Linked DNA regions of Homo sapiens: all the other regions are linked to region 5. Evidence: promoter capture Hi-C in 16 types of primary human blood cells and fetal thymus (Javierre and others, 2016). All regions are on one chromosome and are shown on one strand. Each heading gives the region's core, a stretch centred on a gene start or on the middle of the fragment in contact. The rest is flanking DNA. Distances are from core to core; before and after follow the strand shown.

What was found. The method cuts DNA at HindIII sites, captures the fragments that hold promoters and counts their contacts. A CHiCAGO score of 5 or more calls a contact.
Region 1: a fragment that was not itself captured here is called in contact with the fragment with the promoter of PYCARD in region 5 in 9 of 17 cell types (M0 macrophages, monocytes, M1 macrophages and 6 more); the score reaches 18.1 in M0 macrophages.
Region 2: a fragment that was not itself captured here is called in contact with the fragment with the promoter of PYCARD in region 5 in 14 of 17 cell types (monocytes, M0 macrophages, erythroblasts and 11 more); the score reaches 10.3 in monocytes.
Region 3: a contact is called between a fragment that was not itself captured here and the fragment with the promoter of PYCARD in region 5, in 4 of 17 cell types (monocytes, M0 macrophages, fetal thymus and 1 more). The highest score is 10.3, in monocytes.
Region 4: a fragment that was not itself captured here is called in contact with the fragment with the promoter of PYCARD in region 5 in 3 of 17 cell types (monocytes, M0 macrophages and neutrophils); the score reaches 7.7 in monocytes.

What each region holds. Positions count from the first base shown.
Region 1 is chr16:31,401,495-31,404,194 of GRCh38, forward strand. ITGAD (integrin subunit alpha D) reads left to right here. Exons shown (of 30, transcript NM_005353.3): 6 at 621-751; 7 at 2,006-2,151. Among named protein-coding and RNA genes, the nearest start is that of ITGAD, 9.5 kb to the left of the region's middle. The HindIII fragment of the contact is 7,259 bases long and covers 1-2,700 here.
Region 2 is chr16:30,964,172-30,966,871 of GRCh38, forward strand. It overlaps SETD1A (SET domain containing 1A, histone lysine methyltransferase), which reads left to right. Exons shown (of 19, transcript NM_014712.3): 6 at 1-152; 7 at 441-1,290; 8 at 1,430-2,215. Among named protein-coding and RNA genes, the nearest start is that of SETD1A, 7.8 kb to the left of the region's middle. The HindIII fragment of the contact is 2,452 bases long and covers 25-2,476 here.
Region 3 is chr16:31,039,504-31,042,203 of GRCh38, forward strand. STX4 (syntaxin 4) reads left to right here. Exons shown (of 11, transcript NM_004604.5): 9 at 38-148; 10 at 220-315; 11 at 409-661. The coding sequence ends at 300. Among named protein-coding and RNA genes, the nearest start is that of STX4, 7.3 kb to the left of the region's middle. The HindIII fragment of the contact is 8,081 bases long and covers 1-2,700 here.
Region 4 is chr16:31,002,355-31,005,054 of GRCh38, forward strand. All of the region lies in intron 1 of STX1B (syntaxin 1B), which reads right to left. Among named protein-coding and RNA genes, the nearest start is that of STX1B, 6.9 kb to the right of the region's middle. The HindIII fragment of the contact is 2,126 bases long and covers 365-2,490 here.
Region 5 is chr16:31,201,387-31,204,086 of GRCh38, forward strand. It overlaps PYCARD (PYD and CARD domain containing), which reads right to left and starts at 1,374. Exons shown (of 3, transcript NM_013258.5): 1 at 1,031-1,374; 2 at 761-817; 3 at 100-455. The coding sequence starts at 1,304. The coding sequence ends at 199. It overlaps PYCARD-AS1 (PYCARD antisense RNA 1), which reads left to right and starts at 499. Exons shown (of 2, transcript NR_102400.1): 1 at 499-600; 2 at 1,074-2,066. RefSeq lists enhancers at 205-835, 1,025-1,254 and a silencer at 1,365-1,724. The HindIII fragment of the contact is 5,508 bases long and covers 1-2,554 here.

The DNA of each region.
Region 1 (2,700 bases), core at 71-2,570, 200 kb after region 5:
GGTCTGGGGTGGATCCCTGCCCCACCCCCACAGCATCCCTACAGGCATATCCTACAGGCCTCGAAGGTGCCTGGCACGTGGTGAGAATGGTGCCAGCGGCTGACCCTGGCAGAGGGCCAGGACTTGTCTCCAGCACCCATGTGCGTGTTGCTTTATCCTTGCAGTGATCCCACGTGGTAGCCACTGATATTACCTTCATTTTACAGATAGGGACACTGAAGTCCAGAGAAGTTAAGTAATGTGCCTGAATTCACCAATTAGCACGTGGCTGAGCTGGGGTTTAGCCCAGGCACACTGGCTCCAGAACACGCGCCCTGAACCACTTTGCTAAACATTCGCCCTTGATGCTTGTGGCACCCCTAGCATCTGTGTTTAATGAATATTTGTTGATTAAATGGATGAGGAGCCCACCTGGGTCCTGTGTTGTCATCCCTCTCTTTCCAGGCCATGTGGGAGGAAGGGAGCAGGGGGCTGGGGTGGCAGACTGGGGCCTCCTCCAAGGAGGGGTCGGAAACTAGGTGGGGATGCCAAGAACAGCCCCCGGGCTCTGTTGAGCAGGAGCTGCAGGAGGGGGTTGGGCCCCCGCAGTGCATCTCCGATTCCTCCCCATTCCCCCACAGAGTGTCCACATCAAGAGATGGACATCGTCTTCCTGATTGACGGCTCTGGAAGCATTGACCAAAATGACTTTAACCAGATGAAGGGCTTTGTCCAAGCTGTCATGGGCCAGTTTGAGGGCACTGACACCCTGGTGAAGACTGGGCACCTGGGGCTGGGGTTTGGGGGACGGGGGAGGCTGGCCTCGGGGAGGCATCCCGGGAGGGGTGGGGGCAGGCCAGTGAGCCGTGTGTGATGGGGCTGGGGTGGAGAATGAAGCTATGGTCCCAGCACAGGCCCAACTTGAGCCCTGACCTAGGAGGCCCTCTTGGCATTTAATAATGTATCCAAAAGCTACAGGAAATACAATGTTTCTGCTGTTTAAAAACATTGAAAGTGTTTAAAAAATAATTTTGCTATGGAATTTGACTGACATATTTTCTATGTAACTAATGATTTCTTTTTATTATTTTATTTTCCCATAACTAGTGCCTATGTATGTGCAAAAAAACCCCACTGTTTTGTTTTTTAAACAGGGTCTTGTTCTGTCATCCAGGCTGCAGTGTGGGGGTGCAATCATAGCTCACTGCAGACTTGATCTCCCAGGCTCAAGTGATCCTCTTTCCTCAGCCTCCTGAGTAGATGGGACTACAGGTGCATGCCACCATGCCTGGCTAATTTTTAAAAATTTTTATTGTAGAGATGGGGTCTTGTTATATTGCCCAACCTGGTCTCCAACTCCTGGCTCAAACAACCCTCCCACCTTGGCCTCTCAAAGTGCTGGGATTACAGGCATGAGTCACTACGCCCAGCCACAAATTCTTGAGAAGGGAGGAAATACACAAATTGATTTAATGTGTGATAAAATTTTTAAAAAGCTAAGGGTAGCAAATATTGTGGTTGGCAAAGTTATTTTTAATAAACTGTGAAGGAAATATCATTTGGTTTAGATTTTCCAGTTTATATTTTGTATTTTTGGGCCAATGAATTTTCTTCTCTGGGTTTCAGTATATTATTTGTAGGGCTTCAAAACACATGGGAAATGGTTTGTAAATCCAAAATAATTCCAAAATAAAGTTTATTAAAACTGAAAACAATATGGCTTGGTGTGGTGGCTCACACCTGTAATCCCAGCACTTTGGGAGGCTGAGGTGGGAGTATTGCTTGAGGCCAAGAGTTCGAGACCAGCCTGGGCAACATAGTGAGACCTTGTCTCTACCAAAAACAAAACAAAACAAAAAACAAAGCCAGGCATGTGACGTGTGCCTGTAGTTCCAGCTACTTGGAGGCTGAGGCAGGAGGATCACTTGAGGCCAGGAGTTTGAGAGACCCTGTCTCTACAAAAAATTAAAATAAAAACAATAGTAACAGGCACTGAGCCCTGGGCCCTCCCCACTGGCCTTTGCAGTTTGCACTGATGCAGTACTCAAACCTCCTGAAGATCCACTTCACCTTCACCCAATTCCGGACCAGCCCGAGCCAGCAGAGCCTGGTGGATCCCATCGTCCAACTGAAAGGCCTGACGTTCACGGCCACGGGCATCCTGACAGTGGTGTAAGCAACCCCGACCCCAGCCTGGCGATGTGACTGCCACCCCCACTTCCTAACCCTGGGTCAGCACAGCTCTTCTCAGAGGCTGAGGGAGGCTCCAGGGAAAGGGGCTACCAAGGGGCATGTCGGGGCTGCAGGGAGAACCTCCCCCCGGGGTGCTCCTGGTTGCCTCGCTGCCAGTCTCCCTGATATAGGACTAGGCTCCTCTGCAGCTATGCCTCCCCTTTGCCTGGTTCTGCAGAGCCTGGACCCCAGGACCCCTCCCCACCCCACAGCAGCCAGAGGCCCGGGCTTTGGCTCAGACACATCAGGCTCCCATCCTGGCTCCCCGTGAGCTACTCTGGGTGTAACCCTGGGGTGATGGGCTCTAAGTCTCAGTAACTCTCAGATGAAGATAAGCTCACAGCTTAGGATTGAGATCATGTGTGTGGGGTGCTCAGCCCGGGGCACGTAGGAGGTGTCGGATAAATGCCTGAGGTTTTATCAGAGAATGGAGTAGTCAGGGACTCAGGAATTGTCACCCAAGGTCGTCCTGGTGCCTTTCTCCCCACT
Region 2 (2,700 bases), core at 1-2,500, 240 kb before region 5:
GGCACCCCCTGCTCCCAGGACACAAGCTTCTCCAGCAGCCGACAAGATACCCCATCTTCCTTTGGCCAGTTCACACCTCAGTCCTCCCAAGGAACCCCCTACACGTCTCGGGGCAGCACCCCCTACTCTCAGGACTCTGCCTACTCCAGCAGGTACAGAGCAGACCCCGCCTGGGGCCCCGCCCGCAAAGTCTGGGAGCTGCCACTGGGAAGAAGATGCCCAGAGTCTGTCTCCAAGAGGGAGTTGGAAATAATTTGTCCTAGTTTCTCTGTGGATTCAGTCAACAAATTGCTGTCCTCGGGGAACACACTAGCTAGGAACCCAACATATAGCTCTTCTTTTGGAGGGCAGCATAGAGGGGCTTTGGGCCCTGGGACCCAGTACGCTGTGGTTTGGTCATAGAGAGCTGAGTCCAGCTAACTCCCCTGCTTCTTCTCCAGCACCACTTCAACCTCCTTCAAGCCCCGGCGGTCAGAGAACAGCTACCAAGATGCCTTTTCCCGCCGCCACTTCTCTGCATCTTCAGCCTCCACAACCGCCTCCACGGCCATCGCCGCCACCACTGCAGCCACTGCCTCATCCTCCGCCTCTTCCTCCTCATTGTCCTCGTCCTCCTCGTCATCCTCTTCCTCCTCGTCCTCTCAGTTTCGTAGTTCTGATGCAAACTACCCAGCGTATTATGAAAGCTGGAATCGCTACCAGCGCCATACTTCCTACCCACCACGCCGGGCCACACGGGAGGAACCCCCTGGAGCCCCTTTTGCTGAAAATACAGCTGAGCGCTTCCCACCTTCTTACACCTCCTACCTGCCCCCCGAGCCCAGCCGGCCCACCGACCAGGACTACCGGCCTCCTGCCTCAGAGGCTCCACCCCCGGAGCCTCCAGAACCTGGTGGAGGCGGGGGTGGAGGAGGGCCCAGCCCTGAGAGAGAAGAAGTTCGGACTTCCCCCCGCCCAGCCTCCCCTGCCCGCTCTGGCTCCCCAGCCCCGGAGACCACCAATGAGAGTGTGCCCTTCGCCCAGCACAGCAGCCTGGATTCCCGCATCGAGATGCTGCTGAAGGAGCAGCGCTCCAAGTTTTCCTTCTTGGCCTCTGACACAGAGGAGGAGGAAGAGAACAGCAGCATGGTCCTTGGGGCCAGAGATACAGGGAGTGAGGTGCCTTCTGGGTCAGGGCATGGGCCCTGCACACCCCCTCCGGCCCCAGCTAATTTTGAGGATGTGGCACCTACAGGGAGCGGGGAGCCAGGGGCTACCCGGGAGTCTCCCAAGGCAAATGGACAGAACCAGGTGAGGTTGGGGTCAGCCAGAGGAGGCACCTGGGCTCTGGGAGTCAGGGTTGGGCCTAGGGGAGAGGGAAGGGAACCAGATGAGAAAGTAGGGCTTGGGTCAGGCAGAAGCCTTCTGTGACCCTCTTCTGCCCCCGCAGGCTTCTCCATGCTCTTCTGGAGACGACATGGAGATCTCCGACGACGACCGGGGTGGCTCACCCCCTCCGGCCCCGACGCCCCCTCAGCAGCCTCCGCCACCTCCCCCTCCCCCGCCGCCTCCTCCTCCCTACCTGGCGTCCCTTCCTCTTGGTTATCCTCCCCACCAACCTGCCTACCTCCTCCCACCCAGACCTGATGGGCCGCCGCCCCCTGAGTACCCCCCACCTCCTCCACCACCCCCGCACATCTATGACTTTGTGAACTCCTTGGAGCTCATGGACCGACTTGGGGCTCAGTGGGGAGGGATGCCCATGTCCTTCCAGATGCAGACCCAGATGTTAACTCGGCTCCATCAGCTGCGGCAGGGCAAGGGATTGATTGCCGCCTCAGCTGGCCCCCCCGGTGGGGCCTTTGGGGAGGCCTTCCTCCCGTTTCCACCCCCGCAGGAGGCAGCCTACGGCTTGCCGTATGCTCTATATGCACAGGGGCAGGAGGGCAGAGGGGCATACTCACGGGAGGCCTACCACCTGCCCATGCCAATGGCAGCCGAGCCCCTGCCCTCCTCCTCAGTCTCGGGAGAGGAGGCCCGGCTGCCACCCAGGGAAGAAGCAGAGCTGGCAGAGGGCAAGACCCTCCCGACAGCAGGCACCGTGGGCCGTGTGCTCGCCATGCTGGTCCAGGAGATGAAGAGCATCATGCAGCGAGACCTCAACCGCAAGATGGTGGAGAACGTGGCCTTCGGAGCCTTTGACCAGTGGTGGGAGAGCAAGGAGGAGAAGGCCAAGGTGAGGCCAGCGCCTGGGACCGGGGAGCCCTGGGCTTTGCAGGAGGAAATGGGCCTCTGGCTCCTCCAGGCTGCACAGCTCAGAGGAGACAGGTGATGGAGGCGAGTGGAGAGAGGCCGCAGGCCCTGCAGGCCACCCTGGGTGGGCAGGGGAGTTGAGGGGACAGAGAAGCAGGCACAGATGGGCCTGGGAGGCAGCAGAGCTTTGTCCTGGCTCCATTCCTTGCTGGCTTGCAGTGGACAAGGCCCTTAGCTCTCTTCAAGCTTTGGTCTTCCATTTTGCCACTTGTGAAGTGGGAATGGTGGCTATTTCTTAAGACTGGTGGGCGAAATGACAGACTTTTGAGAAAATGCCGTGCGGGGGCTGGGACAGGTGTGACCAAGATATGGAGCAGCAAGTAGATGCGTTCTGTATTCCTGGGGTCCGGGAGTAGGTCTCAGGCAGGAGGGAATGCCTGGGTTCTGGGCGCTGGGGCTCAGCCCCAC
Region 3 (2,700 bases), core at 18-2,517, 160 kb before region 5:
ATCCTTACCTCCCTGAACCACCCCATCCTCTGAGCAGGGGGAGATGATCAATCGGATTGAGAAGAACATCCTGAGCTCAGCGGACTACGTGGAACGTGGGCAGGAGCACGTCAAGACGGCCCTGGAGAACCAGAAGAAGGCGAGGAAGGTGAGCCTCCCAGGCCCGGCCACTGCCCCAGGCACCCTGTGTGACTTCCCTGACCCCCTCCTCTCCCACAGAAGAAAGTCTTGATTGCCATCTGTGTGTCCATCACCGTCGTCCTCCTAGCAGTCATCATTGGCGTCACAGTGGTTGGATAATGTCGCACATTGTTGGTGAGATGTTGTGGGCTGCCCCCTGGCCTGCCCCAGCCCTGGCCCCAGCCCTCCCTCCTCCCTCAGACCCTGTTCTCCCTCCTTTCCTTACAGGCACTAGGAGCACCAGGAACCCAGGGCCTGGCCTTCTCTCCCAGCAGCCTGGGGGGCAGGGCAGAGCCTCCAGTCGGACCCCTTCCTCACACTGGCCCCTATGCAGAAGGGCAGACAGTTCTTCTGGGGTTGGCAGCTGCTCATTCATGATGGCCTCCTCCTTCAGGCCTCAATGCCTGGGGGAGGCCTGCACTGTCCTGATTGGCCGGGACACACGGTTTTGTAAAAAATTAAAAAACAAAAAAAGAGCATAGAAAGCCCTGTGCACGTGTGTTCCTGGAAGGGCTGGCCCAAGGCTTCCGGGCATCCAACCTCCTTACCTCCTGGACGTCCCCAGGGCCAGGTCTGGCCCTGGCTGCTCAGGTCAAACTGCCAGGGGTGCTGTGCCCACAGCAGGCTGGTTCTGCCTTTCTGCACCCCCATAGGAATGGGTGGGCAGGGAGGGGTAACACCGGCATCTAGCTCCTGGCTCAGTACTGTCCCCGGGAAAGGACCACTGTGAGTATCTGTCTTGGAAATGATGAGGCTGACCAGGCCAGGCTGGGACGCAGGTGAGATGGGGGTTTGGGTGGCATCAGTGGGCCTTCTTGTGGCCCAGAGGAAGAGGCACCATGAAAAAATGCCTAATTGAGGCTGTCACTTTGGATGCAGTGGATAGGGATGGTCTGGTTTCAGCAGGGATGACATTGGAGTGGGATGTTAAGCTGGGGAAGAGGTTGCCAGTCAGAAAGCACAGGAGGCCGGGCCCTGTGACCAACAAAAGCATCATCTTTTACATAAGCGTTTAGGCAGGGTGTGGTGGCTCGCACCAGTAATCCCAGCACTTTGGGAGGCCCAGGCAGGAGGATCTCTTGAGCCCAGGAGCTTGAGACCAGCCTAGGCAGGATGGGGCAACCTCTTCTCTTTAGAGAATAATAATTTTACAAATTAGCCAGGCGTGATGGCAAGTGTCTGTCGTCCCAGCTACTCCAGAGGCTGAGGTGGGAGGATCGCTTGAGCCCAGGAGATTAAGGCTGCAGTGAGCCATGGTCATCCCACTGCACTCCATCCTGGGTGACAGAGCGAGACCCTGTCTCAAAAATAATAGCAATCATCATCAGTAGCAGCAGCAGCAGCAGCAGCAGCATAGAGAGCCAGTGATCCTGGATCAGTGCACCTGGTTGCTGAGGGTTACCTGGCTGAAGCAGGTGGTGGCAGCAGAAAAGCCTGACCTCTGATTTCTTCCATAAGGTACCTGAAATCCAAGCCCTGACTAAATTTCTTTTTTTCTTTTTTTTTGAGACAGAGTCTTGTTCTTTTGCCCAGGCTGGAGTGCAGTGGCACTATCTCAGCTCACTGCAAGCTCCGTCTCCCAGGTTCACGCCATTCTCCTGCCTCAGCCTCCCGAGTAGCTGGGACTGCAGGCACCCGCCACCACACCCGGCTAATTTTTTGTATTTTTAGTAGAGACGGGGTTTCACCGTGTTAGGATGGTCTCGATCTACTGACATCGTGATCTGCCCTCCTCGGCCTCCCAAAGTGTTGGGATTACAGGCGTGAGCCACCGCCTAAATTTCTAAGGGCTCCTAGTCCTGATGCCTAATTTCTGGAGTGGACGTGGCTCCTGTTCCCCGACACCTAGAGTTTTTGTTTGTTTGTTTGTTTGTTTTGAGACAGAGTCTCGCTCTGTCGCCCAGCCTGGGGTGCAGTGGCGCAATCTCGGCTCACTGCAAGCTCCGCCTCCCGGGTTCACGCCATTCTCCTGCCTCAGCCTCCAGAGTAGCTGGGACTACAGGCGCCCGCCACCATGCCCGGCTAATTTTTTTTTTTTTTTTGAGACGGAGTCTTGCTCTATCGCCCAGACTGGAGTGCAGTGGTGCGATCTCCGCTCACTGCAAACTTCGCCTCCCGGGTTCACGCCATTCTCCTGCCTCAGGCTCCTGAGTAGCTGGGACTACAGGCACCCGCCACCGCGCCCGGCTAATTTTTTGTATTTTTAGTAGAGACGGGGTTTCATCGTGTTAGCCAGGATGGTCTCGATCTCCTGACCTCGTGATCCGCCCGCCTCAGCTTCCCAAAGTGCTGGGATTACAGGCATGAGCCACCGCGCCCGGCCCCCGACACCTAGTTTTAAAGGGTAAGCCGGCTCCTGGCACCTGCCTACTTGCAGTAGGGCGGCGCCTAGCTCTGACCTCCAAGGTCTGGGGACTGCGTCGCAGCCGCCCAGTCCATCCCACTTTCAATCTTACAGGCCCCTGCTGTTGCTGCCGCTGCCGCCGCTCCCAGCTGCCCAGTCTGGCGGGCTCAGTCCCG
Region 4 (2,700 bases), core at 178-2,677, 200 kb before region 5:
ACCCACAGCACCACTGCCACCGACAGACAGACTCGAGACACAGACAGAAGAGCTGACACCCAAGGCACACAGGAATAGGCCCCCCCGACACCCACACGGAGATGCACTGATGCTGGCGTTCACCCGCACGCAGACTCACAGCTGAGCCGCACTGACATGTGTGGACACACTGGCTTTCAGCTGCACCCCTGAGGACATTTGGGAGGGCTCACTGGGCTTGTTCTTCCAGCTTCTCCGAGCCTCATGTCTGCACACACACTCAGAGCTGGACAGGAGAGGCTGTAGGGGAGGTGCCCTGTGCTACACACACCTGAGTCCTTCTCTGCTTGGGACAGAGGTCTGACAGCAAAATCTGAGTCCATCAAGCTTAATGACATCTGGAGCCCTGATCAGCCCCAGTGGAAATGTATACAGAGTTCATTCTGATTTCCAAAAAGAACCCAGCCAGAGCTCAGACAGAATCCAAACCCCAGAGGCTGGGTGAAATCAAGACAGGATCCAAACAGCATCCACCTGGGGGTGTACTCAGTTGGAATCCAAAAAGAAGAGCTTGCCAGGGTCCCAGCGGAACGCAGACAGGGCCTAACAGAAACCAGACAGGCTCAGACTGAACTAGCCGAGGCTCACACGGATCCCAGACAGATCCCAGACAGCTCAGATTGAACCTAGACAGGGCCAGATGGGACCTAGGTGCAGTCCACACAGCCAAAACTCAGGATCAGCAGTGCCCCACAGCCCCAGGAAAAGCCAGCACAGCCTGGGGGGCCTCCAGCTCCACGCTCCTGAGCCACCCCAGCCTCCCTGCTAAGCCCAGCCCAAATGGAACTCCAGGGAGTCTTCACACAGACGCTGGGCCCACACTGTGTCGGAAAATGTGTTCAGCACTTGTGTTGAATTTCCAGACAATCCCAACCATCCGCCTGGAAAGGGAGTTTCCTCTGTCTTGGCTCACAGCTGCCCCCAGAAAGTGGGGCGGCACAGGTGGCATAAGTTGGGGACCCTGAGAGGCTCTGGGATGCTGGGCTCACCTCTGAGGACCCATCGGCCTACCATGATGCTCTTCACTTTCTCTGTCCTCAAAATCCAGCTGTGCTACAAGGCCTCCTTCCCCTAGAGCCAAAAGCCTTCCTCTGCCCTTTCTCTCCCTTCAACCACTCACTCAGCCACCAGCCTCACGCAGGTCATGCGGCCTCTCCCTGGCCCGGGTGCCTGAGGACTTTCCTGTTCTCTGTGTCTCTCCCTTCCCCATGCTAATGTTAGGAAGTCTTTCCTAAAATCTAATTTCAATCTCTCCTGTTGTTCTTGGAGCCACCTCCCTTAGGTTCATCTCTGGAGCACCCTGGGCTACCTATTTGTTTGCCCTCAAGACAGGAAGAATGATAGAAGGCCCAAGTGTGGTTTATTTGGTATAATAAATACAAAGAGAGCTGGGAGCTAATAATCCTCTACCATTTACAAACACTTTTACATCCATAATCCGTTTTGATCCTCAGCACCACCAGCCCTGAGAGAAAAGCTGCATAAACATCATCGTCCCCATTTCACAGATGAGGGAACAGGAAGCCAGGGGGGTAAAAGGAGAGTGACTTGCCCAAGGGCACCCAGGCCACATAGGGCCAGAAAACCATGGGCATCCAGCCCCTCAAAGACCGCTGTTAGGCTCCAGACTGGGCTACCTCCCCCACTGACTTTCCGCTCCCAGTTACTTTCCCTCTCAGTGAGCGCCTGCTAAGTCCCAATCTGGGGAAGGCTCTGTGTCCGGACAACCTAGCAAAACAAGAGCACTTGATGGTATTTTTTGCGTAAGTCTTACATTCTTGTTATCTCATTTAATCTTCATTAGGACTCTGTAAGGACCATTGGCCAACATAATTATACTTATGCAAATATTTAGATGATGTTTTACAATGTGCCAGGCACTGTTCTATGTGCTCCACATATATCTATCCATTTCATTCTTACAACAGTCCCCTTGGAGGTATTATTATAGCCCCCTTTTATAGATGGGGAAACTGAGGCATAGAGCTAAATAACTCAGGCCAGTTGTAGTGGCTCACGCCTGTAATCCCAGCACTTTGGGAGGCTCTGGTGGGAGGATCACTTGAACCCAGGAGTTCAAGACCAGCCTGGGCAACATAGCAAGATCATGTCTCTACAAAAAATACAAAAATTAGCTGGGCATGGTGGTGCGCACCTGTAGTCTCAGCTACTTGGGAGGGTGAGGTAGGAGGATCCCCGGAGCTCAGGAGGTCAAGAGACTGCAGTGAGCTGTGATTGTGCCACTGCACTCCAGCCTGGGTGACAGAGCAAGACCCCGTTTCTTAAAAAAAAAAAAAAAAGAACTTGCCCCAGGTCAGCTGTTAGAAGACCATTTGGCTCTACCCCTGAGCCTAGTCTCTGCATTTGCTGAGTGGTAACAATGCCTACCACCGGCTGATTCCATGTTACAGACAAGGAAACAGGCTCAGAGAGGTTGCCTGACCTGCCTAAAGCTTCACAGCAAATGAGGCCAGAGGTAGGACCTGAACCCAGGACTGTCTGGCACTAAATGTCAGGCTCTCTCCCTTCTGTCCTGCTGACAGATGGCAGTCCCTCCTGGTCCTAAAAAGCCCACTCTGCCATGTCCTCAGGACTGCTGAACTCCTGCAGCCAGGACAGAAAATCAGTAGGAGGGGCCCAGGGCTGCAGGAAGAGCTTGGA
Region 5 (2,700 bases), core at 124-2,623:
CCAGAGACCCTAGGGACATGGAGCTGGAGGCTGGGTGGCCTCTGAAGCATAGCTGAGCTCTGCACATGCCAGCAGGCTAGAAGCAGGAAAACACACAAGTTCAAGCTGGCTTTTCGTATATTGTGTATAAAAAGATCAGATTCAGGATGATTTGGTGGGATTGCCAGGGGCTGACCGGAGTGTTGCTGGGAAGGAGCCTCAGCTCCGCTCCAGGTCCTCCACCAGGTAGGACTGGGACTCCCTTAGGGCCTGGAGGAGCAAGTCCTTGCAGGTCCAGTTCCAGGCTGGTGTGAAACTGAAGAGCTTCCGCATCTTGCTTGGGTTGGTGGGCTCGGCCCGCACTGCCTGGTACTGCTCATCCGTCAGGACCTTCCCGTACAGAGCATCCAGCAGCCACTCAACGTTTGTGACCCTCGCGATAAGCGCAGCCCGGTGCTGGTCTATAAAGTGCAGGCCTGGGGGTGGGAGGAGAACATGAGCCAGCAGCCAGGGTGTGGGGCCTGTCCCTGCTGAACTTGAGTTCTTCAGGAATTCCTCTGCAAGCCTAGGGGCAGGGCTCCAGGGGGCGGCCACCAGGACCCCACATGCAGTGGGATGAGGGTAATATTGTCTCCCTTCCCCCGCAGGGTGTGGGTTGGTGGGTGGGGTGCGCAGGGTTGCCAAGCCGTGCCTGCCCTGCCCTGCCCTGCCCTGGTTGCGGGAGCACAGATGCAGGCTGTGCAGGAGTGCGGTGGGGCCGGGCTGGGTGTGGAGGCCTCACCTGGCTTGGCTGCCGACTGAGGAGGGGCCTGGATCCCAGCTGGCGCGGCTCCAGAGCCTGGAAGGATATGGGCCAAGTGATCCCCTTCCCTTCCCTTCCCGCCGTGGGGCCGGGGTCCCGTTGGTCGGTAGGCCAAGCGTGGGGAGCCTCCTTTCCGGTAGAGCAGCTTTGTTTAGGGGTAGGAGGAACAGAAAGCGGAAGAGCCCGCGGGGTAAGCGCTGGTGTGGGTGGAGGGGAAAGACGGGGTGGAGGGGAACGGGGGCGGCTCACCCTGGTGCGTGGCCGCCTGCAGCTGCCCGGCCATCTCCTGCAGGCCCATGTCGCGCAGCACGTTAGCGGTGAGCTCGGCGCCGTAGGTCTCCAGGTAGAAGCTGACCAGCTTGTCGGTGAGGTCCAAGGCGTCCATGGACAGCAGCGCGCCCCGCGGGATGCGCCCGTAGCCCTCGCGCAGCGGCACCGACAGCAGCTTCAGCTTGAACTTCTTGAGCTCCTCGGCGGTCAGGTTCTCCAGCGCATCCAGGATGGCGTCGCGCGCGCGCCCCATGGCTCCAGGATCCCCGGCCGCTGCCGCCGCTCACCCCGCTGCAGCCGCCGACCAGGAGGAAGTCGGCTCCGGGGCGGAACCTGGACTCCCCGCCTTCCTCCCACTCTGGTCTCCCGACTCCCCGCCCCGGTCCGTTGCCCTCCAGCAAAAGGCGCTTCCTTACTACACCCTTGGTCCCCTCCCACCCAGGCCTCTGGATTGGGGCCCCAGGCCGTCGGGGGACGCCAGGATCGCGCCCTCCAGCTGGCCTGCGAGGTGGGACCCGGGAGGGGGCCGCAGAGGGGCTCATGGGTGGCGCCTGCTTGTCTCTGGGCTTGCACCAGCGGGTACAGACCGGAAACCTGGGCTGGCTCTCACTGGGTTTATTGGAGCACCTAGGCTTAGAACCTCGGATTTCTAGAACCCCGAAACCTCCGCGGTTCCCCGAACCTTAGGATCCTCTCCCACATGTCGTAGAATCTTGGAATCATGACAGCTAGAAGCGTGAAGCTCCCTCAATTCCACATACTGGGGAAAAATGAGTTGTACAAAAGGGCAGAGAGTGCAAATCTCTCTGAGCTTCAGTTTCATTTTCTACGACATGGGGATAACCCTCCGGTGCTTATAAATATTCCAGCATAACATGGCCAACCCGATGGCTCCCGAAACCTTGCCAGATGCTTCCTAGGGGAGCCAGAATTTGATCCCAACACTGATTAAAAAAAAGAAAAAAGAAAGAGAGACAGCCTCCAGGAGATTAAAGACCATGAACTTGAAGCCATACAGTTCTTTGTTTGAATCCTGACTCTACTTCCCAAGGGGGATATTTGGAATCCTTTATTTTTCCCTCTCATCTGGGTTGTAACAATCACTGTTCCTTGTAGTCATACGACCCTGACATATTATACGTTTATATGCTTATTGGACATTCATCCCTCTCTAAAATGTGAGGCCTATGAGCATCGGAGACCTTAACTGTCTTATTCTTTGCTGAATTCCTAGCGTCAAGAATGTACCTGGAAATAGCTGTGTGTGGTGGAGGGCGCCTGTAATCCTAGCTACTAGGGCGGCTGAGGCATGAGAATCGCTTGAACCTCGGAGGCAGAGGCTACAGTGAGCCAAGATTGCACCACTGCACTCCAGCCTGGGTGACAGAGCTAGATTCCATCTGAAAAAAAAAAATGTATCTGGAACACATTAGGTGCTGAGTAAAGATTTGCTGAGTGAAGGAATGAATGAGGCTGTGATGCCTGCAGCATGTTGTATTCAAAAGCTTCCAGCATGGCTGGGTGCAGTGGCTCATCACGCATGTCATCTCAGTGCTTTGGGAGGCTGAGGCCGGAGGGTCACTTGAGCCCAGGAGGTTGAGGGTGCAGTGAGCTATGATTGTGCCACTGCACTCTGTGCCACTCGGCAA